Regions from separate parts of the Homo sapiens genome. Here regions 1 and 2 are each linked to region 3. Evidence: promoter capture Hi-C in 16 types of primary human blood cells and fetal thymus (Javierre and others, 2016). All regions are on one chromosome and are shown on one strand. The core of a region is centred on a gene start or on the middle of the fragment in contact, and the rest is flanking DNA. Distances in the headings are between cores, read along the strand shown. Region 1 overlaps PKHD1L1 (PKHD1 like 1). Region 2 overlaps EBAG9 (estrogen receptor binding site associated antigen 9). Region 3 holds the start of TMEM70 (transmembrane protein 70).

Region 1 (2,880 bases), core at 234-2,733, about 36 Mb before region 3:
GTTCTCCCACCCTGACCCAGCAACCACCTACCCACTTAACTTTGTGATAATCTACCACAACCGTCCTCTTTCCAATTTGCACCACGTTTTTTATTAATAATTTAATTTCCAAGACGGGAAAGATGTGTTTATGGCTCGTGCTCTGGAATGGTTCTGTGTAAAGTTGGGTAAAATTATTTAATCTGTTCACCTCAATTTCCTCATCAGTAAAATGGCCATAATAGTGCCTACTTCATGCAGTAGTAATGCTTGCAAAGCTCTCTTAGCACAGAGCCTGGCACATAGCAAACATTCATAGATAACAGTTGTTGCTGCAGCTACTACTACTACTGCATTACTATTGCATTACTACAGTATCATTTCCGGTAATTGCATTTCCCAAAGGCCATGCAACCCCTTTCAGTCCCTTAAACACCTGCTCTAACTTTAATCTCTAGAATTCTAATGCCTAAATTTCAATATAAAATTTCTAAATTTTTTTTGGATTTAAAAAATCGAGTTATCTAGCTGGGCACGGTAACTCATGCCTGTAATCTCAGCACTTTGGGAGGCCGAGGCAGGAGGAACGCTTGAGCCCAGGAATTTAAGACCAGCCCAGGCAACGGGCGAAACTCCGTTTCTACAAATAATTTAAAAATTAGCCAGGTTTGGTGGCGCATGCCTGTAGTCCCAGCTACTCAGAAGGCTGAGGTGGGAAGAATCACCTGAGCCTGGGAGGTCGAGACTACAGTGAGCCATGATTGGGCCCTGCACTCCAGCCTGGGAGACAGAGCAGGACCCTGACTCAAAAAAAAAAAAAAAAAAAATCCAAAATAACCTATATTCGGATATAAACGTGTTTAAATTTTTTTTCTTAAAGAGTTGATTGCTTTAGACAATTTATTATGCCCAAGGATATTTTCTTCTTTTTCCTGATTCTTCAGTTTTCTTTATTAAATTTGCCATTTCCAAATGAAACAAAACGAAATGTATATACTTTTCCAGAAACAGCTAGTTACTGAGTACTTGTTTCCCAACACAATAGCAAAACAGAAAACAAAGCTCGCTAAAGACTGCAAATTTAAAATTTACTTTAGTAATACCTATAAAATAATATTTTAAAATCATCTTTACTTGTTAAATAGTAAGCCCATAATTGGGATCACAAGTCAATAATTTGGGATTGGGTTTAGGGACCACCTCTTGGGAACAGGGAACTTTAAGTCCTGTCCTCTCCCCAAAGCTTGTGTGGGACGGGGGTAGGAAACCACCAGATGTCAAATGGGAGGAACATAAGGGATAGAACCTGGCATATGAATTTCTTTTACTCAATGGAATATAGTAAATTCTGTCTGCTCTGTGTCCAAACCATTTTGCTCACTTTAACGCTTCTGATCAGCCTCTGCCCAATTACCAGCTTGATTTATTCACACTATCAACCTCCAGCCCACCACTTACTCTCCCCTTTCAAAGCCTACATAGGCTTTGTTCTGACTTCTCCAGCTGGGGCTAACTCTGGCCTTGTCACCTGACCTGGCCCAGGAGGTAGGAGCAGACTGCAAACACAGCCCTCTGCTTCCAGATCTTTCCCAACCCAGTTCCCTGGCTTTTCATCAAAGGGTGGGTTTTTTTTCCCTCAAACACAATTTTAGACCTGCTGTTCTGACTTGGACTTTAATGGCTTTTTATTAATGAGCAGCTGTTCACAGTTGAATACAAGATCATAAAGTCACATTCATTTCTTGATCAAGTAAAACAAAGCTTTGCCGCACATAGAGTGACATCTTTGAGCAGATACATTTGAAAGCATAGGATTTTCTGATGAGAATTTTAATGAATTGTTTTATTAATCTTCCTACTGGAGAATTTTACTTGCTTTCAAAATAATAAACATTAATATTCTGGAAAATTATAACTTCTTTTTTAATACTCAAAATCACCATATACTAGTTAGGGTCAATTGCCTAATAGAGAAATCAAACAGTCTGAAGCAGATTTTTTATTTCTTTTCTATTAAATGAAAATTAACTTTCTATGAAGCATTTAAATAAATTTTTCCTCATAATTGTTATTACAATTAGCAGTAACTTTTATTGCTAAATACAGGAAGATTCAAAATTTAGTAACAATTTAGAGTTAACCAGTTTTCTTCAGAAGGGGCCTGGTTAGAAATCAAGAAAAATAATACATATATTTTAGTAGAAATAAATTCAAATGAAAAGATGAGGTGAATTCTCATTTTGTGTTCAGTGGTGAGGTTCAGCCACATCATACTTCTGGCTAATGTCCACATCGTTATTAGATTTATGACAGAGTTCAGCTATATTATGAATTAAGTAGAGTTGATGGGAACAGCATCTGGCAGTCTAAGACCTTTTGTTATTTCTAACAGTAAATGTATTGAAATTCATACAACCAACATAAAACAGTAGTTTGTAAATCTATCTTGTACATGGATTGAGAAAGTAGAAATAAAACAACATGAAACAATGTGAGACTCATTCATTGAGCTACAGCATGATGGACATCGTGACTTTGACCTTGAACAACTTTAAGCCTCAGTTTTCTCATCTGCAAAATTAGGTTAGTAATTCCTGCTTTACGGATTTATTTTGCAAATTAAATATCATACCATATGTGGAAATGTGTTGGAAACACAGCAATAAAATCGGTGAAACCTTTGAAGCAGGCAGATTTGTTATCTTCAAGATCAGTACAATCCCCTTTAGCTCACAACATGGAATAGTGCTTCCAAGAAATAGAGGTGAATTTTATGTCATCAGCAACCAGAAGTAGACATGTCTACTAGCAATATATTAACAAAGGGAAACAGGGAGGGACAGCCAGAAGTCAACCCTCCATACCCCCGCTTCTACCTTCTTTGTTCCCTTCTTTGTTCCC
Region 2 (2,751 bases), core at 248-2,747, about 36 Mb before region 3:
CATGTATACATATGTAACTAACCTGCATGTTGTGCACATGTACCCTAAAACTTAAAGTATTAAAAAAAAAAAAAGAAATAGGCTTTCTAATAAATGTGAATTGTATCACCTAATTTTAACTATAGGAATCTAAAAAGTAGTTTAATCTCCAAAAGCATAAATCTTAACATACTTTCTGAGTTTTCCTAATAGTTGGTGTCATGTCCTTAAAATAGTCAGGTTCCAGTTGTTCCAAAGAATTTTGTTGTGTTGCCACATTCCCATTCCCTCCTTCGATCTTTACACTGGTGGGTGCATCTTCATCCCAGGAAGTCCACTCTTCAACATCTGTCTAAATTTAATTGATCAACATTATCAGCCACAAAGGGGCAACTTAATGAACACATCATTGATGATTTATTAGAAAAATGGGCTTTCTAAAACACTGGTTTTCAAACTTTTTTAACCCACGGGAAAACATACATTTCATATCACAGATCAAAACTTGATCAAAAGTTCAAAAAATACAAGACATTCTGATATATTCTGTTCTATTTTATTCTATTATGTCCATCAAAAAACAAAAAACAAAGTAAAACGAAAGCAAATGCTCTGAAAACTGAACTGACATTAAAACTACAACTCACAGAAGGGCTGGACATTTTCACCCAAGCCTATCCAGATTGATCATCTGATAAAAAATACCAAGCTTCTCCACAGGATTTAAATAAGATGAAGTCTCAAAACATAGTATTCAAAATGTTCATGAAACAACCCAGAATTATTCAGCATATAAAAACAATACATCTAAATTTGCAAGGCAAGTTAATCAACAGATACCAACACCAAAATGATATGTTGGAATTCTCTAAGGCTTTAAAATAGCTATTATAAAAATGCTCCAACAAACAATAGCAAACACTTGAAACCAATGAAAACACAATAGAAAATGTCAACAAAGAAACAGAAGATAAAATGTAGAACCAAATAGAATTTTCAGACCAGATAAATTTAACAACACAACAAAAATTAATTTCTATTAATGATCTGCAATCCAGTTTTTAAAATATTGTTCTAGGACACTTATTCAATCTTTCAAAACAAAACAAAACAAAAGAACACACAAAAAAAACCTACCTGCTTAGGAACTGATGAATAATCAACTGTAGTTGGCAAAGTTATTTGGTCTCCACTTAATTTCCGTCCTCTGCCAGATCTGAAACAAAAATGAAATAATTTATTTCAAGAACCACCAAAACAAGCAAAGTAAAAGCACTATTATGTATGGTAATTGAAGGCTTATAAAACAAGATCTTTCTCAATTTTATGATTATTGATTTTAGTAACAGTTACTCACTAATTTATGGTAAAAAAAAGTCATAAATCAGACATCCTGTGAATGTTTTTTAAATCTTGGACAGAACAACATAACTGCTTTTTGGCTTAGGACTCAGAATTATAAACAAACTCAAGAGGAATATAAAGTCAAAAATAAAAATGCAAGACGGTTTCAGAGCATGCTCCTTGGAGTGCTGTGGGTTCTGTGGGTGAAGTTCTGGGCCACCTTTGCTGTTTTAAACAGGGTGGCTTGGCTTTTATGTTTTACACATGGGGTTTCTTGATAAGATTAACTATTAAGAAGTTTAAAAATCACTAGTTTGAACCAAATGGTAACTTACTTTTAAGGATTAGTAGGAAAAGTACCACATTCAACAGGACGTACTATAACTCAGTTGTTAAGAACATGGGCTGTGGAATCTGTGTAAACCACAGTTTTCAATGTTACTTCTATTATGTCTAGTTAGAATTACCTACTTTTCAGCCTCAACAGCCTCATCTATAAAATGCAGGTATTCAAACCCACTTTTGCAGGGTTGTTTGGATTTAATTAAGTGACATATTTAAAAACCCTAGACAGTGTGTGCCTGCTACATAGCACAACATACAAAAAATGGCAGGTAATAGAGATAATTAGTCATTTACTTCACTTCAAATAATCTATAAAAAAAAAAAGCATCAACTAAGAACTAAGAACGATAAAGTCAGCTATTTTTATTACAGATTCAAAGCTATATTTGTTTAAAGGGTGAATAGAAAAGTAATATAGTCCTTTATGAAATTTATGATACAAGCGTGTTTTTCCTTTCCATAGAGATGGGGTCCTGCTGTGTTGCCCAGGCTGGTCTTGAACTCCTGGCCTCAAGCTATCCTACCCCCTCGGCCTCCCAAAGCATTGGGATTACAGGCATGAGCTACCATGCCTAGCCAAGTCTGGTATTTTAAAATACATGGTCTAAGGTTCCTTCAGACACCAAAGAGAAGCTTATCCTAACATATGGTCAGTTTTCTTTAAAACTGAACATACAATCAATTCTAAATATGTATACATTTACAACAGAAATTTATAGTGCCAATAGGAATGTCCTTAATATTTTTACATCAAGAAAATTTCTTATCCTAGAAGTAATCTATATTTAATGAAAATTTTAAAAAATAGAAGTATAAGAAGAAAACATCTACATTTCATCACCACTGTTAACACAATGCTTCTTTTAACTTCCTGCCTTCTGGCAATTAATACCCATTTTTAATGTTGCTTTACCTGGTGAATTTCTGGCCATTCTCTTCCTCATTCTCTGGTAATTTGAACACTTAGTTTGCTCCTTTTTCTACTTCCCAAATCCTATCCTCTTGGGTGATTTCAAGTCAACCACCTAAATTTTCCATTTCTTTCTTCACTTCTGCCCCAGTGATCATCCAGAGATGATCATT
Region 3 (3,101 bases), core at 105-2,604:
AAGACCTTGTAAATACCGTGTATCCCCTGGTCCTCTTATTTCTTGACAAGAAATAAAATTTGGCTGGGCACAGCGGCTCACGCCTGTAATCCCAACCCTTTGACAGGCCGAGGCAGGAGGATGATTTGAGGTCAGGAGTTTAAGACGAGCCTGGCCAACACGGTGAAACCCCGTCTCTACTAAAAATACAAAAAAAAAATCAGCCGGGGTGTGGTGGAGCGCGCCTGTAATCCCAACTACTGGGGAGGCTGAGGCAGGAGAATCGCTTGAACCCGGAAGGCGGAGGTTGCAGTGAGCCAAGATCACGTCACTGCACTCCAACCAGGGTGACAGAGCGAGACTTCACCTCCAAAAAAAAAGAAATAAAATTTACTTGAAATCCTACATCAAATTTCAAGGGAACAGAAGCGTTCCCCATACATCTGAAAATGAGTTTCACAGTGTATACACTTCAAAATGTAAAAGGCATGCCTAATTCCTCAATGCTGAAATGTAATTAGATTCCAATTTCCATTTTAAGCATTTCTTCCAAGTTTTAACCAGGTTTGCCAATCCTGATATTTTACAGAGTAGAATTAGAAGACAATTTATTCAGATCAAAATAAAAGAATTAACATCTGCATCCCCCTTTTCCCAGGGACCAAAGTAATTCTTAAAAGTACAGCCACCTCATAAAAGTAGAACAAGCTCAAAGTCAGGTTAACCTGGCTCTTTCGGTTCTATTTCCAGGTGCTGCATCCAATTTTTTGCAAATTAACACTTCTAAGCTTCTACTCAAGGGCAGAAAAGGAACTACATATAGTTGTCACCACAAACCCTCTGGATTTGGAACTACCATAAAAGTAAGCACTTTCCAGCCGTTCTCCTGGACTCGCGGAGGCTGAGGACCCCGGGGCCCTCGGCCTGCTACTTCTGCAAGCCCCGCAGAGGGGGCTCCTCCCGCGCTCCAGCCACGGACACCTGGGAGAGGTCGCGAAGAGCCGCTGGGGCTCCCCAGGCCCGACACGACGCCCGCCCTCCCCGCCTCACTTGGGACACCAGACCTCGGACGCCCTACCTGCGCTCGACCCGGACGCCGGAGAAGGCGCGCGGCTCCCGAAGGCCCCGTACTCCAGCCGGCTACCGGCCCCGAAGGCCCGCTGCTGGAGGACGCCCGGGAGACAGAGGCCCGGGGACCTCGGAGCGCGGCGGCCGCACACAATGCAGTCCTCCTTCCGCAGAGAGGCAGTTCGACCGCCCACGGGCTGCCCAACGCCAGAAACAGCATCACGCGGGTGACGAGCGGCTGCGGACGCCCCAGCTGCACGAGTCCACGACTGCGAGACACGGCTTCCCACCCGACTGCCGCACAAGTGGCGCATGCCCAGCCCGGGACGCCTGACTGGCAGCTGGGCTGCCTGCGCGTGCGCAGAATCTGCCGCCCGCCTGCCGCCCGCCTGCCGCCCGCCTGCCGCCCGCCTGCCGCCCGCCTGCCGCCCGCCTGCCGCCCGCCTGCCGCCTTCCCGGCCGCGCGCGTTATCCGCCAGCTGAGCTGGGAGCCCGCCGCTCTGTCCTTGGCTCAGCGGCTCCTCCTTCCTAGAATTTTACCTTCTTTATAACAGTGTGGAGGGGCAGAGGGCTGTACGAGAATGACAATGCCCAGAAGCCAGGGTTAAATATTTTTTTTTCTCGTGGACGACATCACTAAAAACTGTTTCCTTTGCGGAAAATGATTCTAGCCTGTTGGCACAGAAGAAAGAATATACGATTTGAACAAAAATGAGTGATAACTTAATTGAATCATCGGGTTGGAGGAAAATAAATGGAATTGTTCATGTAATATTGATAGGTGTTACCAGATTTGTCTTCGGAAATCATTCACATCCATATACACATTGATTCATTACTTGTTAAAGAGGTACTGAATCTATTGCCAGGACTGAGCTAGGAGCAGAGGATACAAAATACTAGATTAAACTGGGAATCCACAGTGCTTAAACAGTGGAGGAAAATACCTGAAAATTGGCTAGAATATAATGTAATACAATTGAGACACCGCAATATACAAAATGTGGCTGGCCGTGGTGGCTTACACCTGTAATCCCAGCGCTTTGGGAGGTTTAGGCAGGAAGATCTCTTGAGGCCAGGAGTTTGAGACCAGCCTGAGCAATACAGGGAGACCCCGTCTCTACAAAAAAAAAAAAAAAAAAAAAACCTAAAACAAAAATAAGCCACACATGGTAAGTGTGTGCCTGTGGTCCCAGCTACCCAGGAGGCTGACATGGTAGGATTGCTTGAGCCCAAAGTCGAGGCTTCAGTGAGCCAAGACCACACTACTGCACTCCAGCCTGGACCACAAAGTGACACCGTGTCTCAAAAAAAAGAACAAACAAATGCCACAGAAGTACAAAGAAGAACATGATTAATTTTGCCTCAGAATGTCTTCAGACTGGCTTCACATTTAGCTCAGTCTTGAAGGATGAGCATCTTAGTAATAGAAACACACTTTTGTTTACCACTGCAGAACTATACATGTTTTTGATTTGACATGTTATTTGCACCGGAGAGGAACAAATTCATAGTCTAAAATAATGTGTGGCCAGGGGCGGGAGCTCACGCCTGCAATTCCAATACTACGTGGAGGCCCAGGTGAGAGGATCACTTGATTCCAGGAGTTTGAGACCAGCCTGGGCAACAAAGTGAGACCCTGTCTCTACAAAAAATTTTTAAATTAGCTGGGCATGGTGGCACCTGCCTGTAGTCCCAGCTACTTGGGAGGCTGAGGTGGAAGGATCACTTGAGCCCAAGAGGTTGAGGCTGCAGTGAGCCCTGATTGCACCACTGCACTGAGTGACACAGCTAGACCCTGTCTCAAAAATAAAAATAAAAATAAATCAATAGAATATGATCATGTTGGCAACTCCAAATACTGTCTATTGGGGGGAGTATTCAGAAGGAGATAATGATAATACCTCTATATGGATAACTTTATTTTATAAAAAGTTAGCTTCTACTTACATTTTGTTTATTTTTATTTTAATATTTGTTTTAATAGTAGAGATGGAGTTTCACCATATAGCCCAGGTTGGTCTCAAACTCCTGAGGCTCAAGCTATCCGCCCA

Evidence for each region. The method cuts DNA at HindIII sites, captures the fragments that hold promoters and counts their contacts. A CHiCAGO score of 5 or more calls a contact.
Region 1: a fragment that was not itself captured here is called in contact with the fragment with the promoter of TMEM70 in region 3 in 1 of 17 cell types (total CD4 T cells); the score reaches 9.4 in total CD4 T cells.
Region 2: a fragment that was not itself captured here is called in contact with the fragment with the promoter of TMEM70 in region 3 in 1 of 17 cell types (total CD4 T cells); the score reaches 5.7 in total CD4 T cells.

The regions. Positions count from the first base shown.
Region 1 is chr8:109,535,974-109,538,853 of GRCh38, reverse strand. It overlaps PKHD1L1 (PKHD1 like 1), which reads right to left. Exons shown (of 78, transcript NM_177531.6): 78 at 1,647-2,880. Among named protein-coding and RNA genes, the nearest start is that of EBAG9UORF, 2.3 kb to the left of the region's middle. The HindIII fragment of the contact is 518 bases long and covers 1,225-1,742 here.
Region 2 is chr8:109,552,309-109,555,059 of GRCh38, reverse strand. EBAG9 (estrogen receptor binding site associated antigen 9) reads right to left here. Exons shown (of 7, transcript NM_004215.5): 3 at 1,117-1,195; 4 at 173-331. Among named protein-coding and RNA genes, the nearest start is that of EBAG9, 14 kb to the right of the region's middle. The HindIII fragment of the contact is 1,613 bases long and covers 691-2,303 here.
Region 3 is chr8:73,974,448-73,977,548 of GRCh38, reverse strand. TMEM70 (transmembrane protein 70) reads right to left here and starts at 1,354. Exons shown (of 3, transcript NM_017866.6): 1 at 1,058-1,354. The coding sequence starts at 1,267. RefSeq lists silencers at 1,006-1,055, 1,221-1,436, 1,486-1,565. The HindIII fragment of the contact is 7,182 bases long and covers 770-3,101 here.